2 separate regions of the Homo sapiens genome follow, and region 1 is linked to region 2. The links are contacts of gene promoters, found by promoter capture Hi-C in human tissues and cell types (Jung and others, 2019). All regions are on one chromosome and are shown on one strand. Each heading gives the region's core, a stretch centred on a gene start or on the middle of the fragment in contact. The rest is flanking DNA. Distances are from core to core; before and after follow the strand shown. Region 1 overlaps PTPRB-AS1 (PTPRB antisense RNA 1). Region 2 holds the start of KCNMB4 (potassium calcium-activated channel subfamily M regulatory beta subunit 4).

What was found. Contacts are between HindIII fragments. The study calls those that stand out against the background at their distance.
Region 1: a fragment that was not itself captured here is called in contact with the fragment with the promoter of KCNMB4 in region 2 in 1 of the 25 tissues and cell types used here (H1 embryonic stem cells).

The regions. Positions count from the first base shown.
Region 1 is chr12:70,509,642-70,513,395 of GRCh38, reverse strand. PTPRB-AS1 (PTPRB antisense RNA 1) reads right to left here. Exons shown (of 9, transcript XR_001749196.2): 3 at 3,112-3,184; 4 at 1-211. Among named protein-coding and RNA genes, the nearest start is that of PTPRB-AS1, 43 kb to the right of the region's middle. The HindIII fragment of the contact is 3,647 bases long and covers 440-3,754 here.
Region 2 is chr12:70,364,818-70,368,877 of GRCh38, reverse strand. It overlaps KCNMB4 (potassium calcium-activated channel subfamily M regulatory beta subunit 4), which reads right to left and starts at 2,588. Exons shown (of 3, transcript NM_014505.6): 1 at 1,808-2,588. The coding sequence starts at 2,143. RefSeq lists a silencer at 2,533-2,772. The HindIII fragment of the contact is 14,293 bases long and covers 1-4,060 here.

The DNA.
Region 1 (3,754 bases), core at 1,014-3,513, 140 kb before region 2:
AGAACTTTGCAATGACCACTAACTTAGTCGTCACCCAAGTTGACGTTTCTCCCTGACTCAGAACAGATAGCAGGGGGAGGAAACAACTGTCTACCTGCAAAGAATAACACATCAGCAATAAAGAAAGATGAGCCAGGACAAAAGGGGAAATAAAACGAATGGTCCTACCTTGTTGTTCAGGCTTTAGTGGAGGACTATGAGGAGAAGACAACTGGGGAGTAAAATTAAAGGTGAGAGTCAGGTCTGAAAGAGCTATTAGGAGTCTTAGACCTCTTGTAATAGCAGAGGATTTTCAAATTCAACCCAAGAGGAAGACATTCCAAGACCTGTTTAAGGGGACCAGAAGTTCAACCTCTAGGATGGTCATTAAAAGCTGTAACATTTAAAGCAAGGGTCCCCAACCCCCAGGCGACAGATAGGTACTGGTCTGTGGCCTGTTAGAAACCCAGGTTGCACAGCAGGAGGTGAGCAATGGGTGAGAGAGCATTACCACCTGAGCTCCACCTCCTGTCAGATAAGCAGTAGCATTAGATTCTCAAAGGACTGCGAACCCTGTTATGAACTGCATATGTGAGGGATCTAGGCTGAGCACTCCTTATGAGAATCTAGCACCTGATGATCTGAGGTGGAACAGTTTCATCCTGAAACCATCCCCCTCCTTCCACCACCCCCCAAGTCCATAGAAAAATTTTCTTCCACAAAACTGGTCCCTGGTGCCAAAAAGGTTGGGGACCACTGATTTAGACAGAGCTTTTTACTTTTAAATGGCACCCAAGGTACTTGGCGAAATAATCTGTACAGCAAAATCCTGTGACACGAGATTACCTGGATAACAAACCTGAACCAAAAATAAGTTTAAAAATAATAATAAGGCCAGGCATGGTGGCTCACACCTGTAATCCCAGAATTTTGGGAGGATGAGGTGGGTGGATCACGAGGTCAGGAGATCAAGACCATCCTGGCCAACATGGTGAAACCCCATCTCTACTAAAAATACAAAAATTAGCTGGGCATGGTGATGGGTGCCTGTAGTCCCAGCTACTCAGGAGGCTGAGGCAGGAGAATCGCTTGAAACCGCGAGTCAGAGGTTGCAGTGAGCCAAGATCGTGCCACTGCACTCCAGCCTGGGCGACAGAACAGGACTCTGTCTAAAAATAATAATAATAATAATAATAATAATAATAAATAAAAGGCACCTGAGGCTATTTTTGAGTGCCTTCAACTTCCATACAATACAGATTAATATCCTCACTTTACAAATACAGAGGTAGATGCACAGAAAAGACTGGAGAGTGGCCCAAAATTTAGCAGAATAGGAACAATGGCTAATGCACATTATGCACTAATTGTGTGCCAAATGTTCTATATGTCTCATCTAATTCAACTCTTTATACAACTCTTGTTGTTATACCTATTTGGAGACAAAGAAATTGAAGCTTAAAAAGACAAGGTAGGCCTGGTGCGGTGGCTCATGCCTGTAATCCCAGCACTTTGGGAGGCTGAGGCAGGTGGATCATGAGGTCAGGAGATCGAGACCATCCTGGCGAACACGGTGAAACCCTGTCTCTACTAAAAATACAAAAAAGTAGCTGGACGTGGTGGCATGCACTTGTAATCCCAGCTACTCGGGAGGCTGAGGCAGGAGAATCACTTGAACCTGGGAGGCAGAGGTTGCAGTGAGCCGAGATCACGCCACTGCACTCCAGCCTAGGTAACAGAGTGAGACTCCATCTCAAAAAAAAAAGACAAGGTAATTTTCCCAAGGCCATCTAGTATTAAAGCTCAGCTTCCAATATGAATCCTTCTGATTTCAAAATGTGACCTCTTAACCTCTATGCCCACGTAGCTCAAAGTTTGGTCCCCAGACCAGCAGCATCAGCATCACCTGGGATGTTGTTAGAAATGCATATTCTTAGATAGCACTCTCCAGTCCTACTGAATATGAAAATCTGGGGATGGGGCCCAGCAATCTGTGTTTTATTAACAAGTCCTCCAAGGTGATTCTGATGCATGATATTCAGTATTGAGTTTGGGCAACCTCCCTGCTTTGTAGATTCTCATCTGTCAAATTTAACTCTTTGAACATGCCCTGTTTGACAAAAAGGAATAGAAACATGTAATATTTTTGAGCCCTAGCACATAATAAGCACTTAATAATCATTAGCAACTAGTATTACTACATGTCAGGTTTTATTCTGAACTGCTTTAGCTGCATTATCTCATTTAATTCTTTTAAAACTAAATAAGGTGGAGATTATCATTCCCATTGTAGGAGTGAAAAGAGCTGCTTCTTTGTCCTCTGAAGATGTGCTGAAAATCAACTGACAAAAGGCAAATTAATAGGAGAAAAGGCATACAAATTATTAACATGCTTGAGGGAAAATCACAGTGATTGCTCTATAACCCAGTATGGTATAGAAGCTTATATATCCTTTTTCATAGAAGAGAAGATAGGGAATGTAGACAATTCTTTTGAGGCGCAATAAACCATTAGGGAGAATGAATGGACCTGGGAAGTTGAAGTAGACATTACAGGGGCAGAGCTGCACAGAAACAAAGATTGTCTTTTTTTTTTTTTTTTTTTTTTTGAAACAGAGTCTCGCTCTGTCACCCAGGCTGGAGCGCAGTGGTGCGATCTCGGCTCACTGCAACCTCCACCTCCCGGGTTCAAGCAATTCTCCTGCCTCAGCCTCCCGAGTAGCTGAGATTACAGGCGTGCACCACCATGCCTGGCAATTTTTGTATTTTTAGTAGAGACAGGGTTTCACAAAGTTGGCCAGGTTGGTCTCAAACTCCTGATCTCAGGTGATCCACTCACCTGGGCCTCCGAAAGTGCTAGGATTACAGGCGTGAGCCATTGCGCCCGGAAAAAAGGTTGACTTATTATGCAGATGAAATCCCTCAGTTAATCTCTTGGAGCAGCACTCTGTCTAGATGTGGTGATGACTCCTAGTATCTTTTCTCCAGTGGTTGATCTCTGGAGAGATCCTTAGGGAGGGGGATTAAGACCACAGAATTTCTTTTAGAAAGCTTTCTTCATCAGATAAGGAAATCCAAAGAGTCCCTCCCTGAGCTTAGGGTTGTAAGGGAAGGGGAGAAACACGGTTAAACCTTGATTCTGAAGCAGCTTCTAAGAACTCTCAGCACCAGCCTTTGAGGTATCATTCTCCGAGCCAACATAATCCTATAAATGAAGAAACAGAGGCATACAGAAAGTAAGTAATTTTGCCCTAGGACATGTCAACCTAAAGAAAAAACAGACAAAATTAACATAAGGAGAGAGTTTATTTGGGCCAAGTTTGAAGACTGAAACCCAGAAGCATGGACTCAAGTTGCCCTAAATATATGTCCCGACTTTACAGCAGTTACAAGTGGGCTTTTAAAGGAAAAAAGAACAGGCATGCAGAAGACATAGCCAAGGAAAAAGAAAGAAAGAAAAAAGAAATAAGAAGAGGCACTTCCTTGGTTGTTTACCAAGAAATGACAATAACATAAACTATTGATTTGCTATACATTGTTCTTTGTATCAAAAATCCCAGGAACATGAAGATAATGGGTGAGGCAGCTAGTCAGAAAACCACAGGTAAGAAAAGAAAGAATAATATGCCTTTGAGCAATTGCATTTAGGCATGGAATGGGTGCATGACTGAAGTCTCATACTCATGTCTCCCTGGGCCTGACACATTTTGCAAAGTTCACATAGTTCAGACTTATCTGAGCTATTTTTTATTCTCACTTCCCCCTTTTGATTAAA
Region 2 (4,060 bases), core at 1,339-3,838:
CTGCCAGATACTTCAAACTGCCTGAAAATTGTGAAGCAGTCTTTTTGTAATAAATTATAATTTGTCCTTGTCTTGATTAGATATTAGCCATTTATTAATGTGTGTGTGCATATATATGTATATATAGATATGAAATTTATTAGTGCTTGAACCACTATCTTAAAATAATTAGCAACGTTTCACCAACTATAACAACTTCTAAATGATGAACTGCCATATAATTTCTAAATCATTACTACTGGTTGGCACTCATCTTTGACATTATTGATTTAATTCTAAAAAAAAAAATGTTTCTAAAACCCTGAGATTTCTTTTTAAATTCCTGAGCATTAAGAGGATCAAGTTACAACATTTGTCTTTGAGACGTTATCACCTCTTCAAGATCTTTAACATTATACTCCAAATTCTATATTCTTAGTCCTATATTTACTGCTTATGTATTATTGATATTTTTTAAGGTAAATCAATATTCATTTGTCGACAGGAGCATTTTTTTTTTGAGAGGAGTCATTCATATTTTTAAAAAGAAATATTTTCTAAATGTCTCAAATTCAAGAATTTACTGTTCAGGAGGTAAGACCACAAGTTTTATTGCAGAGTGACGGTAAGCTGTTTTAAATACTATTATAATATTAATGTAGAATTTTTTTCTTTTGGATTAATATAAATATATCTTGTTAGAGTTAACAGAAAGTTTTCCTGTGAACACAAGATGCATTCCCTTTTGGACTGTTTTTCTGCTTGATCCCTCAAAAAAAGGAAAAATGTCAGTAACTTTTAAAAAGATACATACCTTTGATAGTTAAGCAACAAGGAGAGCAGAAAAGATCAAGGGAAGTAGAAACGGAACCAGAACCAGGTGCACTACAAAGCTCAATTAGTTCACAGGCTAAGGACACTGCTTTTTATAAGTTATTTTTCTCCATTGGGAACAGTTTTCTGAGACTTCCTCTCTCTGCTCTCCATCCCGGGAGTCCTAACCAGGTTTTATCTTTTTTTTTTTTCTTTTTCTTTTTCTTCTTGCTTGCTTTCGAGACCAATAGAAGTTGTCAGAGAAGTCATATTAGGTACATTTCACTGAAGGTTTTCTATTTTCAGCAAGTTTTACTGTTCTCCAGACGACTCCTGACTGTCCCTAAACACAAAGGGTAACTAGGCTCCCTGTAGACTCTTTTGAGAATCTATTTCATGAAAACTAGGAGCCCTCTGTACTTCCCAAAATGGACCCGCAATATTCCACATTTGATTCCGGGTCGTTTGTCAAGCCACAAAAGCTTATCTTTGAACCCCAAGTTGAAAATGCCTATGTAGAGCGAAAAGGTGAGGAACTCTCTCACAACTTTCGAGAGTCCCCTCGACCTTTCAAGGAAGGTCATTCCATCTGAGTTCTAGATGAGACCAGCTGAAGCTCGGACCTTGACCGTGAGCTGGAGTAGGTGGATCCCCGCTAACCACTGGCTTTAAATGGAGGAAAAGTTAACTTTCTTGGCTCCTTGCACTTCTCCAAACCCAGTCCGGTAGGCGCAGGACCCGGACTGGGTCGAGGCCTCAAAATCTGAGACCAGGCAAGACAGGTTTTAAAGTAAGCCTCTGGGCACCACTGGTCGCCGCGCGTAAACCCACCTGAAAAGACCGGAGCCCTGGGGCTCCCTGATGTAGTCATTCCTGGTTTGAGCACAGCCTGCGCCACCTGGTCTCCTCCTAGCAATGCGAGCACACGCCGAACCCTCCCCGCGCGGAGTCTAACACCGACGCTGCCTCCAAACCTCCCTCGCGGGGAGCCCCTGGGTGCGCGGGGCGTTCTTACCTTGGGGTTGGTCAGGAGCTGGTGCTCGTCGCTGTGCAGCAGCGCCCTAGAGTTGGACTCAGAGTTGTTCACGTAGACCTGGACGCAGGGGTACTGCGAGGTGCCCCTGCAGTCGGCGCCACAGGTGAAGGTGCACTCGAACACCTCGCCGATCTGCTGCACCGACAGCACCGTGCAATTGGCCTCCGTGGCTTGCAGATCCTGCAGCGCGGGACTCAGCCAGCAGAAGCCGAAGATGAAGAGCGACACGACGCCGGAGATGATGAGAAACAAGCCGAGCCGGATGCTCTTGTCCTCGGCTTCCGTGTACTCGTAAGCCACCCGGAGCTTCGCCATCGCCCCCCACTCTCGGCGGCTGGCGTGCTCCCCCCGCCCCCTCCCGCCCCCGGCGCCGAGCCCGACTGCCTCGGGCGGGAGGAGCCGCCGCCGCCACCGCCGCCGCCGCGCGACAGCAGGGGAGTGGGCGGCGAGGGGGAGCGCGCGAGAACAAAGGGGCCGAGGCCAGCGACGCCCCCGGCGGCGGCGGCGGCAGCGCCCCCCAGCCCCCCAGCCGCCGCCTGGGCCCCGCGGTGCAGCAGCCGCTTCAGAGCCTCCTGCACCCTCGGGCGCGGGGAGCGCACGGACCGCTCCAGCTTCCAGCGCCCCCTGCCAGCCTCCGCCCCCGCACTCTCCCCGCCTCCCCCACCCCGCCTCCTCTCGTCGGGTGTCTCTCTGTCTCCATCGCCCGCTGGCCGCTACTCCGCTGACTCGCCCGGCAGCTGCCCCAAGGCTAGGAGTGTCTGAGCTGGGGCGAGCCCGGGGGCTCCCCCGTGCAGGAGGAGGCTCCGCCCCGCCCCGTCCGCAGCAGACCCGGGCCCTTCCGCCCCGCCCCGCTCCGCCCCGCCCCGCCCGGGGGCGTCTCCTTTGGGCGAGGGGCTGACGGGCACAAGCGACAGCGGCGACTTGCAATCGGAATCTTCGCTCACTCCCCTTAGAGGGACGTCCGAGATGAAAGATTAAGATCAATTTAGCTTAACCGGAGGGAAGTTAAAATAATAATAATAATAAGAGGGGAGGGTGGAGTTCAAGTGGAGCGGCGGGAATCTTGAACTCCAAACGAGTACTGGTCACCTGCAGGGAGAGCGGCCAGGCTCCGGGCGCACCCCGGGAAGCGGGCACGGGTGGCGGTGTGGGAGGACACGAGCCGCCCAGGCCGGGCGGATCGAGGTGAAAGCCCCAGGCTAGCGGTGTGCGCTGGGAGGTCCCCGGGGACGACTGAATCGCAGGTTCCCATGCCACGGGCGGGCTGGCGCGCGGTGGTGCCGGAGGCGTGACCCAGCCGCGCCCACGCCGCCAGCGGCTGCGCCCAAGGGAGCGCAGTAACCGTCCAGTCCCAGGACTTGGGCCTCCTAACCGTCTTGGCGCAGACCCGCGCCCCCTGACCCTGCTGAGGCCGGGAGGGCTGCAGGATTGGAGTTAAACAAGCTGAGTCAGGTGGAGTTTGCTGTGGAGGCAATGTGCGTGGGGGCAGGAGGCTGGACGAAGGAAACTTGCTGCTTAGGTCGTCGGTGACCCTTGTGGCAACTTAGGTCTCTGGCAGCCGAGTTGACCCCAACTTGATTTGCCCCCATGGCTGGGGCTGACTGAGACCAAAGGAAAAAGGTGGAGAGCTTTGCAGCCTGGAAAGAAATACCACTTTACCCATCAGAAAAGTACTCTTGCTTTGGGGCTCGCAAGAACAGAATCATTTCTGTCGTTTCCCTCCTTAGGAGTCTTGCCACCCCTGACCCGCCCCAGGATTTGTAGATGAGGTTTCCAGGAGCGCTGCTTAAAGCGACAGCGCCGGGCAGACCCACTTTGGGACAGGTACTGTTTCTAGACCTGTGTTCTGCTCTTAATTCTTGCCGTTGCTCCCTCCTCCCCCAATTACGCTAACAATGCTTCAGCCTCTATTGTTTTCGCGACCTTTTTAAAGTTAGAATGACCTTTTCCCAAACTACACTTTTATCATAAAATCAAACTTGAGAACTATTTATATGTACATTTCGAAGAATAAAATCAGAATATTAACTTCCTTGCAAACTACATAAACTTTTTTTGTTTGCTTGTAAGTCTCAAATGAATAAACTCTTAATTATGTTCCTGATGAATACGGAAACATGGAATCATGGAATTCTTGACTTCTCTTTCCTGGACTTCAAATGTTACTTAACTGGTATTGAGTACCTTTCGACTGCAGTTCTGATAACGTTATTTTGAAGCACTACATTATGA